7 separate regions of the Homo sapiens genome follow, and regions 1, 2, 3, 4, 6 and 7 are each linked to region 5. The links are contacts of gene promoters, found by promoter capture Hi-C in blood cells and fetal thymus (Javierre and others, 2016). All regions are on one chromosome and are shown on one strand. Each heading gives the region's core, a stretch centred on a gene start or on the middle of the fragment in contact. The rest is flanking DNA. Distances are from core to core; before and after follow the strand shown. Region 1 overlaps KRT35 (keratin 35). Region 2 has its middle 10 kb from the start of KRT32. Region 3 overlaps HAP1 (huntingtin associated protein 1). Region 4 has its middle 4.3 kb from the start of KRT17. Region 5 holds the start of KRT12 (keratin 12). Region 6 has its middle 7.7 kb from the start of LINC00974. Region 7 overlaps LOC100505782 (a long non-coding RNA gene).

The links. The method cuts DNA at HindIII sites, captures the fragments that hold promoters and counts their contacts. A CHiCAGO score of 5 or more calls a contact.
Region 1: a fragment that was not itself captured here is called in contact with the fragment with the promoter of KRT12 in region 5 in 3 of 17 cell types (M2 macrophages, M1 macrophages and M0 macrophages); the score reaches 8.7 in M2 macrophages.
Region 2: a contact is called between a fragment that was not itself captured here and the fragment with the promoter of KRT12 in region 5, in 1 of 17 cell types (M1 macrophages). The highest score is 5.1, in M1 macrophages.
Region 3: a fragment that was not itself captured here is called in contact with the fragment with the promoter of KRT12 in region 5 in 1 of 17 cell types (non-activated CD4 T cells); the score reaches 5.4 in non-activated CD4 T cells.
Region 4: a fragment that was not itself captured here is called in contact with the fragment with the promoter of KRT12 in region 5 in 6 of 17 cell types (total CD4 T cells, naive B cells, naive CD8 T cells and 3 more); the score reaches 7.7 in total CD4 T cells.
Region 6: a contact is called between a fragment that was not itself captured here and the fragment with the promoter of KRT12 in region 5, in 6 of 17 cell types (total CD4 T cells, non-activated CD4 T cells, naive CD8 T cells and 3 more). The highest score is 11.3, in total CD4 T cells.
Region 7: a contact is called between a fragment that was not itself captured here and the fragment with the promoter of KRT12 in region 5, in 2 of 17 cell types (M0 macrophages and endothelial precursors). The highest score is 7.1, in M0 macrophages.

The regions. Positions count from the first base shown.
Region 1 is chr17:41,476,193-41,478,892 of GRCh38, forward strand. KRT35 (keratin 35) reads right to left here. Exons shown (of 7, transcript NM_002280.6): 4 at 2,642-2,700; 5 at 2,169-2,294; 6 at 1,326-1,546; 7 at 518-1,011. The coding sequence ends at 864. Among named protein-coding and RNA genes, the nearest start is that of KRT35, 3.6 kb to the right of the region's middle. The HindIII fragment of the contact is 6,798 bases long and covers 1-2,700 here.
Region 2 is chr17:41,455,949-41,458,648 of GRCh38, forward strand. No RefSeq gene overlaps it. Among named protein-coding and RNA genes, the nearest start is that of KRT32, 10 kb to the right of the region's middle. The HindIII fragment of the contact is 807 bases long and covers 1,032-1,838 here.
Region 3 is chr17:41,721,313-41,724,012 of GRCh38, forward strand. HAP1 (huntingtin associated protein 1) reads right to left here. Exons shown (of 11, transcript NM_177977.3): 11 at 1,328-2,700. Among named protein-coding and RNA genes, the nearest start is that of GAST, 10 kb to the left of the region's middle. The HindIII fragment of the contact is 2,195 bases long and covers 208-2,402 here.
Region 4 is chr17:41,627,547-41,630,246 of GRCh38, forward strand. It overlaps the pseudogene KRT42P. Among named protein-coding and RNA genes, the nearest start is that of KRT17, 4.3 kb to the left of the region's middle. The HindIII fragment of the contact is 5,188 bases long and covers 1-2,700 here.
Region 5 is chr17:40,865,884-40,868,583 of GRCh38, forward strand. KRT12 (keratin 12) reads right to left here and starts at 1,340. Exons shown (of 8, transcript NM_000223.4): 1 at 737-1,340; 2 at 272-354. The coding sequence starts at 1,303. All of the region lies in intron 1 of LOC105371777 (a long non-coding RNA gene), which reads left to right. The HindIII fragment of the contact is 7,860 bases long and covers 1-2,700 here.
Region 6 is chr17:41,560,802-41,563,501 of GRCh38, forward strand. No RefSeq gene overlaps it. Among named protein-coding and RNA genes, the nearest start is that of LINC00974, 7.7 kb to the left of the region's middle. The HindIII fragment of the contact is 7,476 bases long and covers 1-2,700 here.
Region 7 is chr17:41,408,259-41,410,958 of GRCh38, forward strand. It overlaps LOC100505782 (a long non-coding RNA gene), which reads left to right. Exons shown (of 3, transcript NR_040111.1): 2 at 163-2,059. It also overlaps the pseudogene KRT41P. Among named protein-coding and RNA genes, the nearest start is that of KRT31, 12 kb to the left of the region's middle. The HindIII fragment of the contact is 2,205 bases long and covers 274-2,478 here.

The sequences.
Region 1 (2,700 bases), core at 141-2,640, 610 kb after region 5:
TCCATCTCCTGCTTATGATGGGCTGTGGATTGTTAAGGGGGTTGCTGAACTTGGAGGGCTGCATGAAAGGGCTGCAATGGTAGGGGGCTTATGTAAATGCACCCCTAAAAGTACCCTGGGAGGGAGACACCCTATCGCCGGTCTTACAAGGACCACAGACAAGAGGCTGATAAAGTGGCCTAAAACCCTCCCTGTTATGCTGATCTCAGTTTCCATCTCAGTTTTGTCCCTCCCACTCTGGGATCCCCAGGTGACCACGTATACTAAGAGGGATTCCACAGCAGTCTGAAAACACCTGGCACCACACTGGAATCTTGGAGAAAGGTCTTCATCAGGGAAGCCAAGCAAAAGCTCTCACTGTAGGCCTCTACCCACCCCAAACAGGGGCATAGTGACCCTGTCATCCAAAGGGTCATACTTGGTCACACATCTCCCATTCGGCTGCCCAACAGTCACCCCCTGGACACAGCAGAGACACAAGCCAACAACACCAGAATGGTGCAAGTTAGGCATCAGGGGCCTGAGCAAATGCACTTTATTGTTCTGCCAACAAAAGCCCTCTACTGCATTTCAGAATCCACCGGAACAGCACCTAGAAGGAAAACCTGACCCAGGAGGCAGCCTGAGAACAGAGACCCTGGCACCCATTGAAATGATGAGGAGTTGAGACCTTTGGGGGCAGCCGGCCTTTGTGACAGGCTCTGAGAAACTTTAGGGCATGTATTTGCAGAAAGCCTTTTCAGCCAGACCCTGGGCCTGGGCTCTGCGCGAAGAGAGGGGATTGGGCTACAAGGGTTAAGTTTGGGTAGAGGCCAAGTTCAAGCCCTGGAGACAATAGCCATGGCCATCTGGGTCACCCGCTCTCAGAACCGACCCCCTGGGCAGGGCACACAAATGGGGCGGGGGCTGCAGTTTGTGCGGGCTGCACTAGGACCGCAGGAGGCCGCAGGAAGACAGGGAAGGCATGACTTGGAGGGTGAGTAGTCAGGTGCACATGGGTTACAGGGGAGCCTAGAAAAAAGAAAACAAATTACTGTGATTTTCCAGTTGCTGTTTGCAGTAACTCAAAGTAGATCCTAGACTATGCAAACTGGGAAGCACCCTAAAAACCACCTTGATCCTGCCCCCTTGTTTTACCAAAAGGGAAACAGGCCCTGAGAGGAAAGGGGGCTTGCTGGAGTCACGTGATGAGTTTTCAGGAAGACCAGAACTAAGAGAACAGAACTCCAGACTCCGAATGCCAGGCTCTTTCTAGGCACCATGCTGTCTTCCCAGAACTTGGTAGATTGCAGTGAGAAGACAAGAGCACATGCAGTGATACTCACTTGCTGTCCTCACTCTCCAGCAGGCCCCGGTACGTGTTGATCTCACACTCCAGCCGGGCCCGGACGTCCAGCAGCACCTGGTACTCCTGGTTCTGCCGCTCCAGGTCAGCCCGGATCTCGGCCAGCTGGGCCTCCACGTTGGTGATCATGCACTGCATCTGGGCCAGCTGGGAGCTATAGCGGGCCTCCGTCTCTGCCAGGGTGGATTCCAAAGCATCTCTCTGTGAGGGCAAGAGTTGTGTAGGGAGGAAAAAGGCTAGAGGTCAGAGAAGGAGCAAGGAAGGAATCTTCCTTGGAGCTATAGCGGGCCTCCGTCTCTGCCAGGGTGGATTCCAAAGCATCTCTCTGTGAGGTCAAGAGTTGTGTAGGGAGGAAAAAGGCTAGAGGTCAGAGAAGGAGCAAGGAAGGAATCTGGGTCTCAGTGAGGCCTCAGAATCCAAGAACAGAAGCTCGGAGAATCAGAGTTTGAGCTAGGATGAACCACAATCAGACATCTCACTTGAGATGAGCTAATTAGCCCCTGTGGCTTCTTTGATCTAGAAAGTATCTCCCTGTTAGTGTCATCTCTGAGTAACTGATAGTTACTCAGAAGATGTATCTGCTTGCACAAATATAGGACCTACTGCCTGGACATGTCAGTTGCTACAGGTCTCTTGTCCTTTACCACTGGGGGATTTGTGACTGGAGCTGGTCCCTCATTCCCTCTTTTCTGCATAGAGAACCCCTGGTGCTCAAGAACATGGACCCCTGGAGTCCGCCTGTGTGGTCAAAGCATGGAAGCTGGGGAGCTTGTGTGCTCCTCGGCTTGGTCCAGAGGCAGCTCCACCCTGCCTTGGGGCTCACCATGCTGTGCTGAGCCTGCAGCTCAATCTCCAGGGCGTTGACCGTGCGTCTCAGCTCGATGATCTCTGCCTGGCAGGACTGCAACTGCTCTGAGCTGGACACCACCTGCTGGTTCAGCTCCTCACTCTGAAACATACACACACAGAACCTGGTCAGCCACACCAGGGACTTGGCTTCAGAGAGCTACAGAGGCCGGTTAGAATCATGAGCCAAGAAAGACATTCCCGATTCCCCAGTCCCACTCATTTATTTTATACTGGAGGGCATTGTTGCTCAGAGGACAGCAACCTGCCCAAGTGGGTCTGTTTTGACCTTGTCAGCAAGGTCAATTGAAGTGGGTCTGTTTTGACCTTGTCAGCAAGGTCAAAACAGAGATGGGACTCAAAGTTAGATTTCTTGATTCAGAGCCCCAGGGTCACTTCCATGTGAGCCACCACATACCCCTGTTGCACTGACTGTTTCCAGGTACCTACCTGGGTGTCCAACCAGTCTTCAGCATCCCGGCGGTTATTCTCCACCAGGGTTTCATACT
Region 2 (2,700 bases), core at 185-2,684, 590 kb after region 5:
TGAATCACCTGAGGTCAAGAGTTCGAGACCAGCCTGGCCAACATGGTGAAACCCCATTTCTACTAAAAATACAAAAATTAGCCAGGCATGGTGGCATGTGCCTGTGGTCCTAGCTACTCAGGAGGCTGAGGCACAAGAATCACTTGAACCCAGGAGGCAGAGGTTGCAGTGAGCCAAGATCATGCCACTGCACTCCAGCCTGGGCTACGGGGCGAGACTCTCTCTCCAAAAGAAAAAAAAATTATGAAATACAAAAAGAATATTGTTTTATTATTAATGATTTTCCTGGTTATACCCTGGAAGAGGCATATTCTTTTTTTGATCACTCTCTAAAAGGTTTCCTAATATAGTGGTGAAGAAAGATTCAGTCAGTGCAATTCAGAGTCCACACACAGCCCCAACTCCCAGATGCCAAACCCAACTCCTGGATCTTTCGGGAAGCTGTCGCCCTCTGGCCAGTCTTCCTTGAATGGCAGTTCTGCCCATGGGCCCTCACTCTCACCCCCAGAAGAGGGTGCTTTGCACTAGGGCAGTGAGCAGCAGGGGTGAGGCCCAAACTCTTGAATAGCCTTGGGGAAAGTGGTGTCTTTAAAAAGCACACCCTTTTCTTTTCCAATCCCGCTCAGAGAGGATCCCTGATACCTGTGAGGGTTTCTCCAAAACATCAAATATGACAGAGGTTTTATGACTTGACCAGGGTCCTGCCTACATTTCCCTATAAACTCTTCCCCTATAAAGAGTTAATTAGATGCAAATGCTTTGATATGAGGAGAGAGTTCCTCTGAGAATCTCCATGAGTGGTACACTGAGTCCAGTTCCCAGGAGATTCCGGTGCTGGTGGGGGATAAATATCTCCCAAAGTCTATGCCCACGGCTTCTTCATCCATCAAATAAGAGACAGGCTAGGCAGGAGGGTAGCTCGTGACACCTCTGGCTTGAAGTACCATCCAGACACAGAAGATGATGGGCCTCACTTCTAGCAGAGGAGGGTACTCCTGGCCCTGGGCTGTGGGGCTTGGTTTCATATAAAAAGCTTTAACAGTCATCTTGGGAGTCAGACAGGTCTTGGCAAGTGGGAGAGACACACAGGTGTGGGAATGGGGACCGAGTTGGACTGAAACAATATGCACTGGGGAAACGGAGACTCTGGAAGTCCCCAGGGGGTCCAGGGTCCAGGACTTCTGGCCCACAACTCCTGTGCAATCATTCCTGCTGAGGCTCTGGGCTGCAGCTCAAGGTCTTTGCTCTTACTGAGCCCAGTGCTCAAAGAAAGAGGAGATGCTGAGTCTGGTAGTTGCTAGCGATGCTTTTTAAGAGAACTATATTCCCAGGAAGAAGTTTCAGCTTCTCAGAGAAAATGTCTCCCTTCTTTGGGAAATGAAAGAAAAGGAGAGGGGAAATATGTATTAGCCTGAAATAATAATAAACCTAGGGTGCTTGGAGAAAGCATAAAGTGCTTGGAGAGACCTAAGAGGCTTGGCGTCAAAACCCTTGGCTTCAATTTCCACCTGTTGGTTGTGTCTGTGAGCACATCTGTCCACCTCCCTGGGTCTGAGATGACTCTTCTGTAAAACTGGGAAAGCTGAGCCAGATCATCTGGAAGGCTCCTTCTAGTTCTGACAGTCTAAGACAGCTCTGTCCAGTAGAACTTTCTGCAGTGTTGGAAATAGTCCATGTCTGTGTTGTCTTATTTACTACCACTTAGCCACGTGTGACGAGTGCAACTCAGTGCAATTCAGTATATGAAACATTCATATACCGAATGTTTCAGTATATGCAGCCACATGTCGTTATGAACTACCATATTGGACAGAACAGGTCTAGGATTATAGAACCAAAGCTTTGGTCTGTTCTGTGTGTTGTTTATCAAGCTGAGCACATTCCAGAAAAGTTTTGCACCGGGGTTGAAATTAAAGATTGCTGGTTTGCACGCAGTTATGAGAAAATTCAATTAGCCAGAACCCCTCTCTCTTGGCATTTCAGCTCCTTGAAATTTTACCCATCCATCAACCAGGAACCACAGCTTGCTAAGCAGTATGTTCATGTCCCTGCTGTCAGGCTAATGACCTTGTCTGCCAGGGATGCCTGCAGGATCATGTCTGGAGAGCAGCCTGCAGGCAGCTTCAGGATCCAATCCATTTTTCATCATTTCTTGGCAAGGCCAGAGGGAGGATACTTAATAGAAACATCATCTCAGCTCATTAAGGAAGAACTGTGTGTTTGGAGGGTGAGGTTCAGAAAGGTGTTCAAGATTCCTGTCCCCAGCTCTCTCCTCTTTACCTGCCATGGCCAATCCATTGCCAAGTCAGGTCCATCACAGTGTCTCTTAGATTGATTCCTTATTTTTCCATGGTCCCTGACATTGTCTTGCCTGAGACCCTGTTAGCTTCTTCCACAGCCTAACCCCTCCTCTTAGCTATCCTGTCTGTGTTACTTGGTGATACTTTCTAAGATGCCACTCAAGTCATGTCATCTTTGGGCTCAAATCCTGCAGCAGCCCTCCCATTGCCTTCAGGATAGAGTCCAGAATCCAGGCTTTTTGTGGGGTACCCAAGGCCCCCCTACTCTCTGATGCCTTTCTACCATTTGAGCTTCATCCCCATCAGCCTCTCACAGGAACTCACTGCTCCAGCCAGCAAGACCCCTTGAGGCCTTCCAAGCATGACCCCCTGCTCTCCTGAAGATCCCCACACACTTACT
Region 3 (2,700 bases), core at 55-2,554, 860 kb after region 5:
CCAGTGGCATCTGTGTGAGGTGCCCAGGTTCACAGAGCAGCTTGTGGCTTGCATCCACCTTGCAGGTTGCTTTTCTTCCACATCACCACTGGGGACTTGAAGATAACAGGGGCAGGGAATCCTCCAGATTTTAGGAAATTTCACTGCTTCTCCTGCTCAGTGGTCTCTGGTCCACAAGGTGTTCTCCTGCATCTCCGTTTCCTTCAAAGCTTTATCAAAGCTGGCAATTTCCCCCATGTCTGGTTTGTCTGTCATTTTCTTTTCTCTTTTTTTGAGACAGGGTCTTACTCTGTCACCCAGGTTGGAGTACAGTGGTGCAACCTCAGCTCACTGCAACCTCAACCTTCCAAGCTCAAGTGATCCTCTCACCTCAGCCTCCCAAGTAGCTGGGATTACAGGGGCTGCCACCATGCCCAGCTAATTTTTTTTGTATTTTTAGTAGAGACGGGGTTTCACCATGTTGACCAGGCTGGTCTCGAACTCCTGACCTCAAGTGATCCACCCACCTCAGCCTCCCAAAGTGCTGGGATTACAGGCATGAGCCACCGCGCCTGGCCTCCCCCAGATATTTTCTTGTGTTTTCAAATGGAGTCTCGCTGTTGTTGCCCAGACTGGAGTGCAGTGGCATGATCTCCGCTCACTGCAACCTCTGCCTCCTGGGTTCAAGTGATCCTCCTGCCTCAGCCTCCCAAGTAGCTGGGATTACAGGCACCCACCACCACGCCCAGCTAATTTTTGTATTTTTAGTGGAGACGGGGTTTCACCATGTTGGCCAGGCTGGTCTCGAACTCCTGACCTCAAATGATCCACCCACCTCGGCCTCCCAAAGTGCTAGGATTACAGGCATGAGCCACTGCACCCAGCCTCCCCCAAATATTTTCTATCTGTGGTTAGTTGACTCCACGGATGCAGAGCCTGAGGATACGGAGGGCGACTATACTTGTTCCTAAACCCTGTTCCAGGTCTGCTCTGGGGACTTCACCCTAAGACAGTGGGTGACTCTCTCCCATCCTATCTTTCACAGCCAGGCCACTGAGTCAGTCTCTGGGGTGAAAGGATCAGGGAAGCATGAGCTCAAATCCCAGCTCCACACTAGCCATGATCTGCTGGTGAGGGCATCACTTAACCTACTCTGGCCTGAGTTTCTCCATCCAACAGACACTTATGACATCACCCACCGCCCTCTAGGAGCTGCTGCTATGATTAAACGGCGTATTTAATAGGAGTCCTCGGCACATACTTCAATATTAGCATCCACCCTTTCTCTACAACTTCGCCCTGCCAAGTGCACACACACACTCCCTAGAGAGACAGCTGGAGGCTGGGCCAGGAGGGTATAGATCCTTTATTTCCTGCACCACACGCACACAGGCTGACAAGCAATAGGAGATTGAGAGGTGCTGTGTGAAGGGGGGCAGGTACCTGCAGGAGGCCTCAGTCCCAGCCCCCAGCTATTGAGGAACAAAGGTGTGGGAAAGGGCAGAACATGGAAGAGGAAGCCAGGGGCAGGGAGGGGGGGATCAAGACAGAGGGGAGAGGGGCTGGGCCACGGATGGGAGCCTGGACACCCCCAGGCCACTGGCAGAAGAGGGAGGGAGGGAGAGGAGACACACCACTGGGCAGAGGGGCCCTCACCCACCCACACACAGAGACACTTGTGGTTACAAACAGTAGGTAGGGACTGAGAAGAAAGGATGAAGAACAGGGAAGACAGCCAGGTCCCTCAAGTCAACAAGAACCAGGGTGGCTACCATTAGCATGGGCATCAAGGGGTGAGGGGCACATTGTTGGGAAGGCGCTCACAACTCCCTGCCGGTGGAAGCTGGGCCCTGTTCCCTGCTCAGGGCTGAGTCTGGTAGCCAGTGGGCCTCTCCCGGGCTTCTCCTGCCCCCTGGGCTGCCATGTGGCCCAGACCTGGCAGCCACAGCTTTTGCACCAGCTGCAGAGCGAGGGCCGGGGTTCCTACCGCCTGTCCCTGAAGACGTTGGAAAAGCCTCCAACATGTGGGAAAGGGCAGAACATGGAAGAGGAAGCCAGGGGCAGGGAGGGGTCCCCAAGCTCCAGCCCAGGTTCATGAACACAGAGGGTGGGCTGGTGACAGACACAGGGTCCCATTTCAGAGGATGGGAAGGAGGGTCTGCGGGTGTGGGGCTTGGCCAGGCAGCAGAAGGAGGGGCCTCAAGCTGTCTGTGGGGCCTCTGCAGGCTGCTGGGGAACAGCAAAGCCTGGAAGAGAAGCAGGTGGATGTGAACTGGGGCATTGATGACCACAGGCCTGGCCTGGGCGGTGGGCAGGGGTCTGATCAACTGTATCAGAAGGACACGGAAAGTCGCCATTGATAATTATGCAGGTTGCCCCCTGCATGCGCCATAAAGGTCATGGTTCAGTTTATAACCTGCACAAGCTTACATGACACGCCTGCTGAAGCCAGTGCTATTCCACCCGGCAGTGACCAAAGGGCCATGAGAATGGGGACAGGCTGGGACGGGTACCAGGACAGCACTAGAGGGGAGGGATGGGCCAGTGAAGGTGCTACAGCACAGGAGTAGAGAGGACGGGCTCAGATCTACCCCGGCTGTGTGGCCCCAAACAAGTGTCCTTAGCTCTCTGAGCCTCACCCTCCTCACCTAACCAATGGGGACACATCACCTGCCACGGAATGAGGCTGATGGGAGCTGATGCACGTGCAATGGCTGCTGT
Region 4 (2,700 bases), core at 138-2,637, 760 kb after region 5:
CCCTGACACATCTCTCTGGCCCCGCCCTGACCCCTCTGATCCATTTCTCCCTCTGCAGCCAGAGTGAATGTTCTAAAATCTCTTGATGTTCATTTCACTCTCCTGCTCCAAATCCCTCCATGGCTCCCCATTGCCTACGTGATCTAGTCCAGACGCTTTAACTTGGCATTCAAGGCTCCTCAGCCAGACTCCAGCCTGCATCGTCAGTATCACCTCCTGCAAACCCCAACAGGTTCCGACATTCACACCTCCTGAATTTCGCTGGTGCTCAGACACCAACTTCTCCCTGGGTGAAGCGGGCCCCCAGCCCACCCCAACAGGCACCCTGGTACACACTCACTGGGCGTCCTCAACCTCCAGCAAGCGGCGGTAGGTGGCGATCTCCTGCTCCAGCCACGTCTTCACGTCCAGAAGGACCTGTGCTTGTGGTCCTGGTGCTCCGTGTCGCAGCAGAGCTCGCACAGCTGCTGCTCCATGCTTCTGTTAAGCCCCTGCAGCTGGGCCGGCAGGGTCCTGTAACACACCTCCATCTCCACCAGGCTGCCCTCCAGCGATGCTTTCTGTGGGCCAAGAGATAGGTGGTGTGATGAGCTGGACCTGGGACCCTTCCCCATGGCAGAGCACTAGAGAGGAGCCCCTCCTGTATGGGGCTGTGGGTGCTGCCAGCACAATGAGGTGGTAGTGCACCCAGCCACTGAGTGTGAAGGGACAGGCTGGGTGGGGACTCTGGTTCCCCAAGCAGGGGTCTACAAGGCTGGGCTCACCCTGGGGTGACAGGTACAGGGTGGGGAGGGGACAGAGACCCTACCTTGCTGAGCTGGGACGGCTCAGGTTCTGCACAGAGACGTAGAGCTCCATATCTCTATCCAGCCACTCTGCAGGGCCTCTGTGTTGGTGGCCACCTCGCAGTTCAGCCCCTCTTTCTGGAAGGCAGAGTGGGCCACAGGGGTTTATGGAGACTTTCAGAAGCGGGGCACAGGAAAGGGCTGCTCCTGAACCCTCACCTCCCAGAACCATCCCCTAGCCCCTCCCTGGCCTCTATGGGGCCCCAAAGGCACCTGCACACAGAGAGCCTCTGCACCCACATTGGAACTTGGAGGAATTCAGCCTGCTCTGCGGTCATTTGCATTTCTTTTTCCTACTGAACTGCAGCACCTCAAAGACAGGCACTGGGTGTTATTCTTTTGCGCCTGTTGCTGTCCCTAGGATACCGGAGATACTCAGCCTGTGCTTGCCAAGGGTATACATATGTATTCAAATACGCACATCCTGTAAACAGCTGTGGTGGAAACCCAAGACCAGACTTGTAGAGACCTGGATCTATTTTGCAGGCCACAGTGAAGGGCTGTGTGAGCTTGAGTCCTCTCTGAGCCTCACGTTTTACATCTAAAACATGAGGGGCTGGTCCAACTGGTTTCCAAAAGTCCTTCCAACTGGGACAGCCTGTGGATCTGCCAGTGCTCCAGCTGCACCAGCATGCAGCACATGTGCCCACACGTGTACACACCTGCTTACGCACGGCCACCCACCATGCTGAAGAACCAGCCCTCGGCATCCTTGCAGCTCTTCTCCACCAATGTCTTGTCCTGGTCACGCATCTCATTCAGGATGCAGCTCAGGTTCACTCCAGGCACAGTGTCCATCTTCACACTGACATCCTCATCCACCTGACCTCAAAGGACGTTCATTTCCTGGGCAGAGAGGACAGCAGAAGCTCACCCAAGGCCATCCTGGAGAAAGACCCTGGGGCCTGCCTTCTTTCCCTCGGAGAGACAGGTACAGATGACAGACAGACAGACACAGATAGGCCAACAGCTCCTCACCCTGAAGGTGGAGGTGGATGTTGTCATTTCTCAAACATACAGGGCTGTGAATATTAGCAACCTCCCCCAACACACACCGTGACGCGGGACTGGAATTCACCCATCCCCAACAAGTGCTAAGCCCCGAGAGATGACAACCCCCCAGCACGGTGGAGGATGACCACGGGCGACCTCACTCACTGCCCTGACCTTGCCCCCACCACTGCCTTGCCCCCACCACCAAGCCCACAGCACAGGCATGCAGAAAGCAACCCTACGCTGTGTCACTGCGCCAGGCCCCGTTAGCAAATGTTAATCTGCTGGAGGAAAGCAATTGTATAACCAGCCTCAAAGCCAGGGGGAAACACCTTCCGGGTGTCCTGCTTCTCGGGGAGTAGGCTCCCCCAGCTCAGAGCAGCACAGAGCTCGGCTGAGAAGGAAGACACAGGACAGGGCATGTAAGGCCTCCTGACTGCCCCACAGGACCTTGGATCTCTATCCTTGGGTTGAGCTTTGGAGTCCCTGCGACCTAGAGCCTTCTGGAAAGGAGAGGCAGGAGAGGGGGCAGAGAGGTGGGGTGGATACGAGTCCAACAGACCTGAAGGAGGGTCCCTGTGCAGCCATAGATAAATCCCTTAACCTCTCTGAGCCTCCGTTTCTTCAAAGGTCAAAAGGAAGTAAGAGTATCTTTCTCCCAGCTGTTGTATCAGCTGAGATAATGGCTGTGAGTCACTTGTAGTGCTGGGCAGAAGTTCCTTGTTTTAATGACTATCACTATTATAATTAATTATAACAAGCATTGTGTTAATTATAACTAGCATTGTGTGTTCTTAAACTGAGTTACTCATTAGTTAGTTAACTGCAGTGAGCTGAGCCTCAAGGGACAAATGAAGTCTAT
Region 5 (2,700 bases), core at 90-2,589:
TTATGGTGTCAGTCACATCATGAGTTGAGTCAATAGCACACTACAAATATCGTGATCCATAGCCCTGGGTTTAAGTAACTTATAATTTAAGGACATTTAATCTGAATTGCATTAGATTCTAATTACTTTCTAGAACACCCTATGTGAATTTACCAAAACAGTAAATATATGGAGTATGTGAACTTCAGAAGATTTTATATCAATGAAGGCAGGACAGTAGGACAGAAGACATGGTGGGACACGCCCATGATCTTCAGTTTATTCGACTCACTTCATCCTGAAGTCCTCAGCAGCTAGTCTCGCATTGTCAATCTGCAAGAGGAGCTGGGCATTTCCAATGCTGGCTGAAATGATCTGGCAAAAGAGAGGGACACACACAAGATTGAAGCCCTAAAAGACTAGTATTATACAAATATATTTTTGACACAAAGGTGAAAATGGTGATATTAAATGCTGTTTTATTTAGAGTTTAAGACAGTTTCATTTTTCTAAGACAATATCTGTATAAAATAATATTGAGAAGTAAAGAAATGCAGATTTCCTACAGAAAGATAATGGAAATACAATCATTTCTTAGTAAATGATAAAGTGGAGTGAAACAACCTGGGATGAGAAAATTGCTGCAAGTACAGCTAAATTGGAAAATATCAAAGTTGTAGGTGATTATCACTGTAAAACATTGTAATGGTAAAAAGGAAAAAAAAAATTCCCAAAGCGCCTCCAAAAGAGATCTTACCTTATTCCTGAGGTCTTCAATCAGTGGATAATATTTGCTGTAATCGCTCTGTGAAGCATCTGCAGTCCCAGTTCCTCGTGTTTCATACCATTCTCGAATTTTATTTTCTAGCTCAGTATTAGCCTCTTCTAGAGCTCGCACCTTATCCAGGTAGGAAGCTAATCTATCATTAAGATTTTGCATAGTTTCTTTTTCTGATCCAGAAAGAAGGCCTCCATCATTGCCCGAGAGAATACCTAGAGAGCCACCTCCTGGGCTGCCCCCAAATCCCATCCCCAGCCCTCCAAAGCTACCTCCACCCAGGGCTCTCCCATAACCAGCACCCAGTCCTCCTGCCATGGAACTTCCGGAGCCACCCCCAAAGCCGGAACTAGAACCAAACATGGAAGCAGCAGAAAAGCCTCCCCCACAGCTGGCTCCAAAGCCAAAGGCACTTCCCCCATAACCACTTCCAACACTGGAAGCAGACATGCCCCTGGGTCTGCCTATCACACTCTGCGAGGAGAGCCGCCGGGACAGTCCGGGGGTGCGCACTGAGAGTGACATGGTGTTGTTGGAGAGATCCATGGCCTGGGGAAGGTGGCCACAACTGGAGAGGAAGTTGTGCCAGCAAGCCAGAAAGCTAAACTTATATAGGCTGCAAGATGGGTGTCGCAGTTGAAAAGTTCACTTTCTCCACTCAAAATTGGATCCTCCCCCCAGGTTTTTGGCCAGCTCAACAAGTGAATGATTTATGTATAATGAAAATTCATTGATACAGAAATAATCGAATAATCATTTCCATTAAATATTTGTTATATGAAAAAGAAAGCTGGGTGGAGTAGAGTCTGCTTGTCATAAGGAATTTTTCTTCTCCAAATTAGTCTGTTGCCTGTATTCCCAGCACTGCCTAGCGTCTTGTTCACAGTAGGAAGATAATGAGCGATTGCTGAATGGATACGTTAAATACTTCTTCCTAAACCTTATGCTTTTTTAAGTTCTTCCCTGATCTTTTCTGTTTGTTTCCTTTGGAAAATCCAGTGTAAACCATTTGTTTCCTTTGGAAAAACCAATCCAATGTAAAATCCAGTCATGATCAAGTATACCTTTTAGTGGAATACAGCTTCAGAAGCAGCTGTGAAATGCACTGGTGAAAGGTGGAGAATAAATATATTTTCCAGATGGATACTAGAATTTGCATTTTCAAGGATTTTAAAACCTTGGCTTTAGGATGTTGCATGTTTCTTTTCCCTCTTATTCTTCAACTTGGAAAAGTACTATTTTTGAGTACAGTTGTTTATAGTAGAGTTTATTATAGTTGTTTTAGCAGTTTTACCTTGTCTGATTGCTCACTGCTCTACACTCAGCATTTACTATGTTTATTCCTTCAACAGATATTGCCTGTAATGGTTGCTCAATAAATGTGTTGACTAGTTGAATGGATTGTGTAAACACTTCAGATTTTGTTGCCATTATCAATAAGGAGAAAGTGGAAACACAGTTCAAATTAAGAAATGATTAAAACCCCAAGTTTAAGAGGCTAGTGAACCATTTCAGTTGACTGCTATGATGAAAAAGGATAAATTTTACAATATAGAATAAATTAAATGTTATATTTTAAACTTTGTTGTGAAAACTTTGCAAAGCGTGCTTCAAGGAATTATATCCAGTATCTTTAATTTTTAAGACATAAAGTTCTTATACTTTCTTGTTTGGTATATTATTTATCTTTGAAATTGATATGGCTTATATATTGAACATGAGAACTAACGTTCTTACAGGAAATGCATTAACTTGAAAGAAGCCTGCTTTCAGAGAGAGTTGTAGATACCTGGAAACCGAGTAGTACAATTCCAGGGTGGTGGAATTCCCTTAGGAATTTAAATTGTGAGCATTTTGATTGGATAAGAAGGAATAAGGATTTTTCTTTTACATGTTTTCTTTGAGATGATGGCCCAATTCTCTACATGTCTCATTGCAAAATA
Region 6 (2,700 bases), core at 65-2,564, 690 kb after region 5:
GTTTGCTTCTCATGAGCCCAGTGGTATCCCAGACCAATCCTGTGGTTATTTCCCAGTGTCTGGAGTGGACTAGACATAGTCAGTAAAAGGATCCTGATCCTTACCAGTAAGGATTACGTGGTTTAGAAAAAGGACCAGCAACACTACATCTCTAAGGGAATGACAGAGATTAGTGCCACATGAAAGATTTGATGGGCCAGGAGTGGTGGCTCATGCCTGTAATCCCTGCACTTTGGAAGGGCAAGATGGGGAGAGAACACAGGAATGTAAGATCAGCCCTGGCAATAGAGTGAGATCCCTGTCTCTAGTTTAAAAAAAAAAAAAAAAAAAAAAAAAACCTCAAAAATTAGTCTGGCGTGGTGGCACACGCTTGTAGTCCCAGCTACTTGGGAGCCTGAGGTAGGAGGATTGCTTGAACCTGGGAGGTCAAGGCTTCAGTGAACTGTGATTGTACCACTGCCCACCGGCCTGGGCAACAGAGAGAGACCCTGTCTCAAAAAAAAAATGATAAATTTAGGGTTAACTTGCCTAGTTTTTCTGTGCAGAACATGAACAGATGTTAGAGAATAGCCATGAATTATTTTACAATTTATCACATGGTTGTTCCAACAGCAGTCGTTGATCCAGATTGTGTCCCTTTTCTAAAGCAGATCACCATTGACCCTGGCACCTGCTGTGGGAAATTCTTTTTTCTTTATCCCAATAAACAAAGAGTACCAGAATAAATATGCTTTCACCTGCAGAGAAAGCAACACGGTCATTCCCCTTATCCATGGTTTCGCTTTCCACAGCTTCAGTTACCTGTGGTCAACTGTCATCCAAAAATATTAAATGGAAAATTCCAGAAATAAACAATTTGTCAGTTTTGAAGTGTGCTGCCCTGAAGAGCATGATGAAATCTCACACTGCCCCACTCTGTCCAGCCCAGGACAGGAATCATCCCTTTGTCCAGCTCTCCATGCTCTATGCACCACCCACCCACTAGTCGTCGCTTAGTAGCTGTCTCAGTTGTCAGATCAACTGTTGCAGTATTGCCGTGCTTGTGTTCCCTTATTTTACTTAATTACGACCCCAAAGTGCAAGAGCAGTGATGCTGATAATTCAGATTTGCCAAAGGGAAGCCACAAAGTGCTTTTTTTTTTTTCTTAAAAGGAGTTTTGCTCTTGTTTCCCAGGCTGGAGCACAATGGCGTGATCTCGGTTTACCTCAACCTCTGCCTCCCGGGTTCAAGCGATTCTCCTGCCTCAGCCTCCCAAGTACCTGAGATTACAGGCATGCGCCACCATGCCTGGCTAATTTTGTATTTTTGGAAGAGACAGTGTTTCTCCATACTGGTCAGGCTGGTCTCAAACTCCTGACCTCAGGTGATCCTCCAGCCTTGGCCTCCCAAAGTGCTGGGATCACAGGCATGAGCCACCGCGCCCAGCCAGCAAAATGCTTTCTTTAAGAGAAAAGATGACAGTTCAAAACTTACTACGGAAAGAAAAAAACCATACGCTGAGGTTGCTAAGATCTACAGTATGATAAGATATTTTGAAAGAGAGAGACCACATTCAAATAATTTTTATTACAGTATATTGTTATAACGATTCTATTTTATTAGTTATTGTTGTTAATCTCTTGGTCTGCCTAATTTATAAAGTAAACTGTATCTTAAGTATGAATGTGTAGGAAAAAGCATAGTGTAGATAGATTTAGGTGCTATCCACAGTTTTGGGCATCCAGTCAGGATCTTTGAATGTATTCCCTGTGAAATAATGAGCAACTACTGGGCATCTTTTCCAGGATGTGCAGAGAATCAAACTTGGAGGGTATGCAAACAGAAAAATTCCCCAAATCACACTCAAGGATTGCTCTAGGAACACACCACTGCTGTCACTTCTGGCCACCAAAATTGAAGCTCAAACTATGGATGATGGGCACTGCATGTCTTTGCCAGAGCCGCTGCTATTGCTTCCTCAAAAAATCACATATCTCTGCCCAACCTTGTTCCTGCCATAAAAAATTCCACTCAGCACCTCCTTTAAATCAAAATCAAAGTCCTTCACTCCAATGGGGTGCCATGGTTAAAAAAAAAAAAAAAACGTCTTGTGCGGGCGCACCTGAGTGGCAGGGCTGTCAGGGGCCCATGCCCTAGATGCAGGTGAGCTCGGAAAAGCAAGTTTCTGACCTCTCCCTTGGGGAGCTTCACACTTAAGGTGGAGAATTTCCCAAATTGAGGTAGAGAAAAGATACATAAAATGGGCCAGGCCTTGTGGCTCACACCTGTAATCCCAGCACTTTGGGAGGCCGAGGCAAGTGGATCACCTGAGATCAAGAGTTCAAGACCAGTCTGGCCAACATGGTGAAACCCCCGTCTTTACTAAAAATACAAAAATTAGCTCAGCGTGGTGGCAGGTGCCTGTAGTTCCAGCTACTCAGGAGACTGAGGCAGAAAATCGCTTGAACCCGGGAGGTAGAGGTTGGATTGAGCTGAGATCGTGCCACTGCATTTCAGCCTGGACGACAGAGTGAGACTCCGTCTCAAAAAATAATAATAATAATAAATAAAATAAATAAAAAGATATGTAAAATGGTAGATGAGGAAGACAGCAGGTAGCAGAAAAAGAACCAGAGAAGAGTAAACAGTTGCATATTAACAGCGGAGCGCTAGAAAAGAGATCACAGACTCTCACTGCTCAGGTGTCTTGCTAGAGCCAC
Region 7 (2,700 bases), core at 126-2,625, 540 kb after region 5:
GGTCAATGGTGGGCTCAATGTCCAGCTCTATCCGGAGCTTGTCTCCCAGCTGACCCCTTAGAGTGTGGGCTTCCTGTAGGCATCAGAGGAGTATGACCCGCCTGCAGGGCCCCCAACTGCCCTTCACCCAAACTCTCAACTCCCACTTTCCATCCTCCCCAGTAATTTCCCTGTGCTCCTCTGAAGATAAACCGCTGCCTGCACCAGCCTAGCAGCTTCCAGAAGCTGTGGATGAGAAGCAATCTCCCACCAAAAGCCAGAGCTCACCTGCAAAGCTTCAATCCCAAGCAGAAGGAAGCCTCCGTTTTTTCCCCCCAGATGAGCCTGAATTCACCTCCAGAAAGTCTCAATGCATCACACCAAGGGTCACACACCTGCTCATGGTTCTTCTTGAGGCAAAGCAGCTCCTCCTTCAGGGACTCCAGCTGGGCCTCCAGGTCACACTTGGCGAGGGTGAGGTTGTCTAGCACCCTGCGCAGGCCACAGATGTCAGCCTCCACCAGCTGTTGCAGCGAGCGCTCTCTCTCGTACCTGTAACAGGGAAAGTGCAGGAGTGACAGTTAGAGGGCAGGAAGGGGCACCAGGACATGACTCCCAGCTCGCAGCTGTAAGTCCACTGGCCTGCCCTTTGCCATCTAATTGTGAGTTGGCTTATCCTGTGTAGTGTGCTCAAAGCCCAGAAAGCAACAGGATGTTCCCCACTCAGTCAATACTAAGCACCTGAGATGAACCAAGGGGAGCAGCTGGTACTGAGGATACTGTGATGGACACACAGCCAGCACCTGCCTTTACACACAATGGCCCAAAAGGGAGGTGGCAAAGTAACCAGGCATTTGCAACACAGTGCAATCACTGCAGGCCCCTCTCTACAAGCCCCATACCCAAAGGGACCCTGGATTCCCTATTAGAGTAAAAGCCACATTGCCAGCATGAGAGGAAGGAAATGGCTTTCTTTAGCTCTAGAAGAGTGAGACTTGCACAGTGCCCCGAAGAAAGATGATAAAACACAATGCCCTTCCAGCACCCAGGGTAGACCCTCCTCAGGTGGTGTCAACCCTTTGACTTTCACATGTTTTCATCTTAGGCTATGGAGCATGATTTCTGCTATGAATTATCAGCACTCACAAATTAATCAAGCTGCAGCACAGAAACATATCCTTATTAAGGCAACAGTTTCACAGGAAATTGCTTCAAGAAAGGAAAATTTGGTACAAAATTTAAGGCCAAGTCCCAGCTCTGCCACTCGGTACCCACATGGCTTCTGGCAAGTCACACCAGCACCCCAAGCCTCAGGGTCCCCACCTGTGGAGGAGATTCTATCCCTGCCCGCCTGCTTCACAAGTTGCTTACCAGGTGGATGATGCATTCTAGCACATGTTGTAAACTGTTAATGCTAAACCACTGGAGAGCGGATAGTTTTTCAGGATCTTGAGCTTAATGCCCTTTGTTCTCTTCTGCTATAACTACTGGGTTGGGGTCTGGGTCAATGACATCCGATGCCACATGAGACAGAAGCAGCCAACTTGGCATTGTCCCATCCCCATCCAACCCCAACTCTCACTTGGCTCCTTCCCATCCCTGTCCAACCCCAACTCACTTGGTCCTGAAGTCATCTGCAGCCAATTTGGCATTGTCTATTTGCACAACCAGCCTATTGTTCTCCGATTTGGTGCACAGAATCTGGGGTAAGAAAGTAGGCTCAGTAAGTGACTTACTGATCCCAGAGACACCTATAGCCTCAGGTGAGAGGAAGTTTTATTGGCTGAAGTTGAACCTACAGCATCCGCCTGGACAACACAAACTCCCAAACGTGCAAGAGATGCTTTTGTGGTGTGGGAAGGAAGATGTGCAAGAGACTTCTTGGAAAAGGATGAAGACATAGAGTCAAAGGAACCAGGAGATGGAAGACAGTAGCAAACTGAACATATAACAAAGACTTGCTTTCATTTTGCCAGATATGATGCTTAGCCCAATATAAATAAGAAGATCTGGCCGGACGCAGTGGCTCATGCCTGTAATCCCCGCACTTTGGGAGACCAAGGCAGATGGATCACCTGAGGTCAGGAGTTCAAGACCAGCCTGGGCAACATGGTGAAACACCATCTCTACTAAAAATATAAAAGTTAGCTAGGAGTGGTGGCGCACACTTGTAATCCCAGCTACTCAGGAAGCTGAGACATGAGAATCACTTGAACCTGGGAGGCAGAGTTTGCAGTGAGCTGAGATTGCACCACTGCACTCCAGCCTGGGTGACAGAGCGAGACTTTGTCTCAAAAAAAAAAAAAAAAAAACTAGGCCACAGAACAGAGGACTGGCTATGAATGTTTTAGATAAAGTAGGATCTGTTCTAAAGAAGATCTTTCCTCTGGTTGTCCAACCTCCCCACAGGTCTTCTCTGAATCTAGCCAGGTTTCTGTAACCCCTATTTTGACATTCCTTGTCTTCTTGTCTCCAAAACTAAGATGTAGGCTCTTCAGAAGCTTTAACTGGATAATCAAAGGTGACAATAGATATGCATAAGAGGTTGATGCTGTTGTGTGGATAGACACTGCCTTGGCAAGGATGTTAGGAAATATTCCTTTTGCCCTGTTTACTGCACCAGAAGTTTCAGTATACTGCAACTTTCATAAACTCAGCACGGTTTTTGCATGGTTTTCATGAAAATAGCATGATTTTTGTGACTACGATTTAGGAATTTTA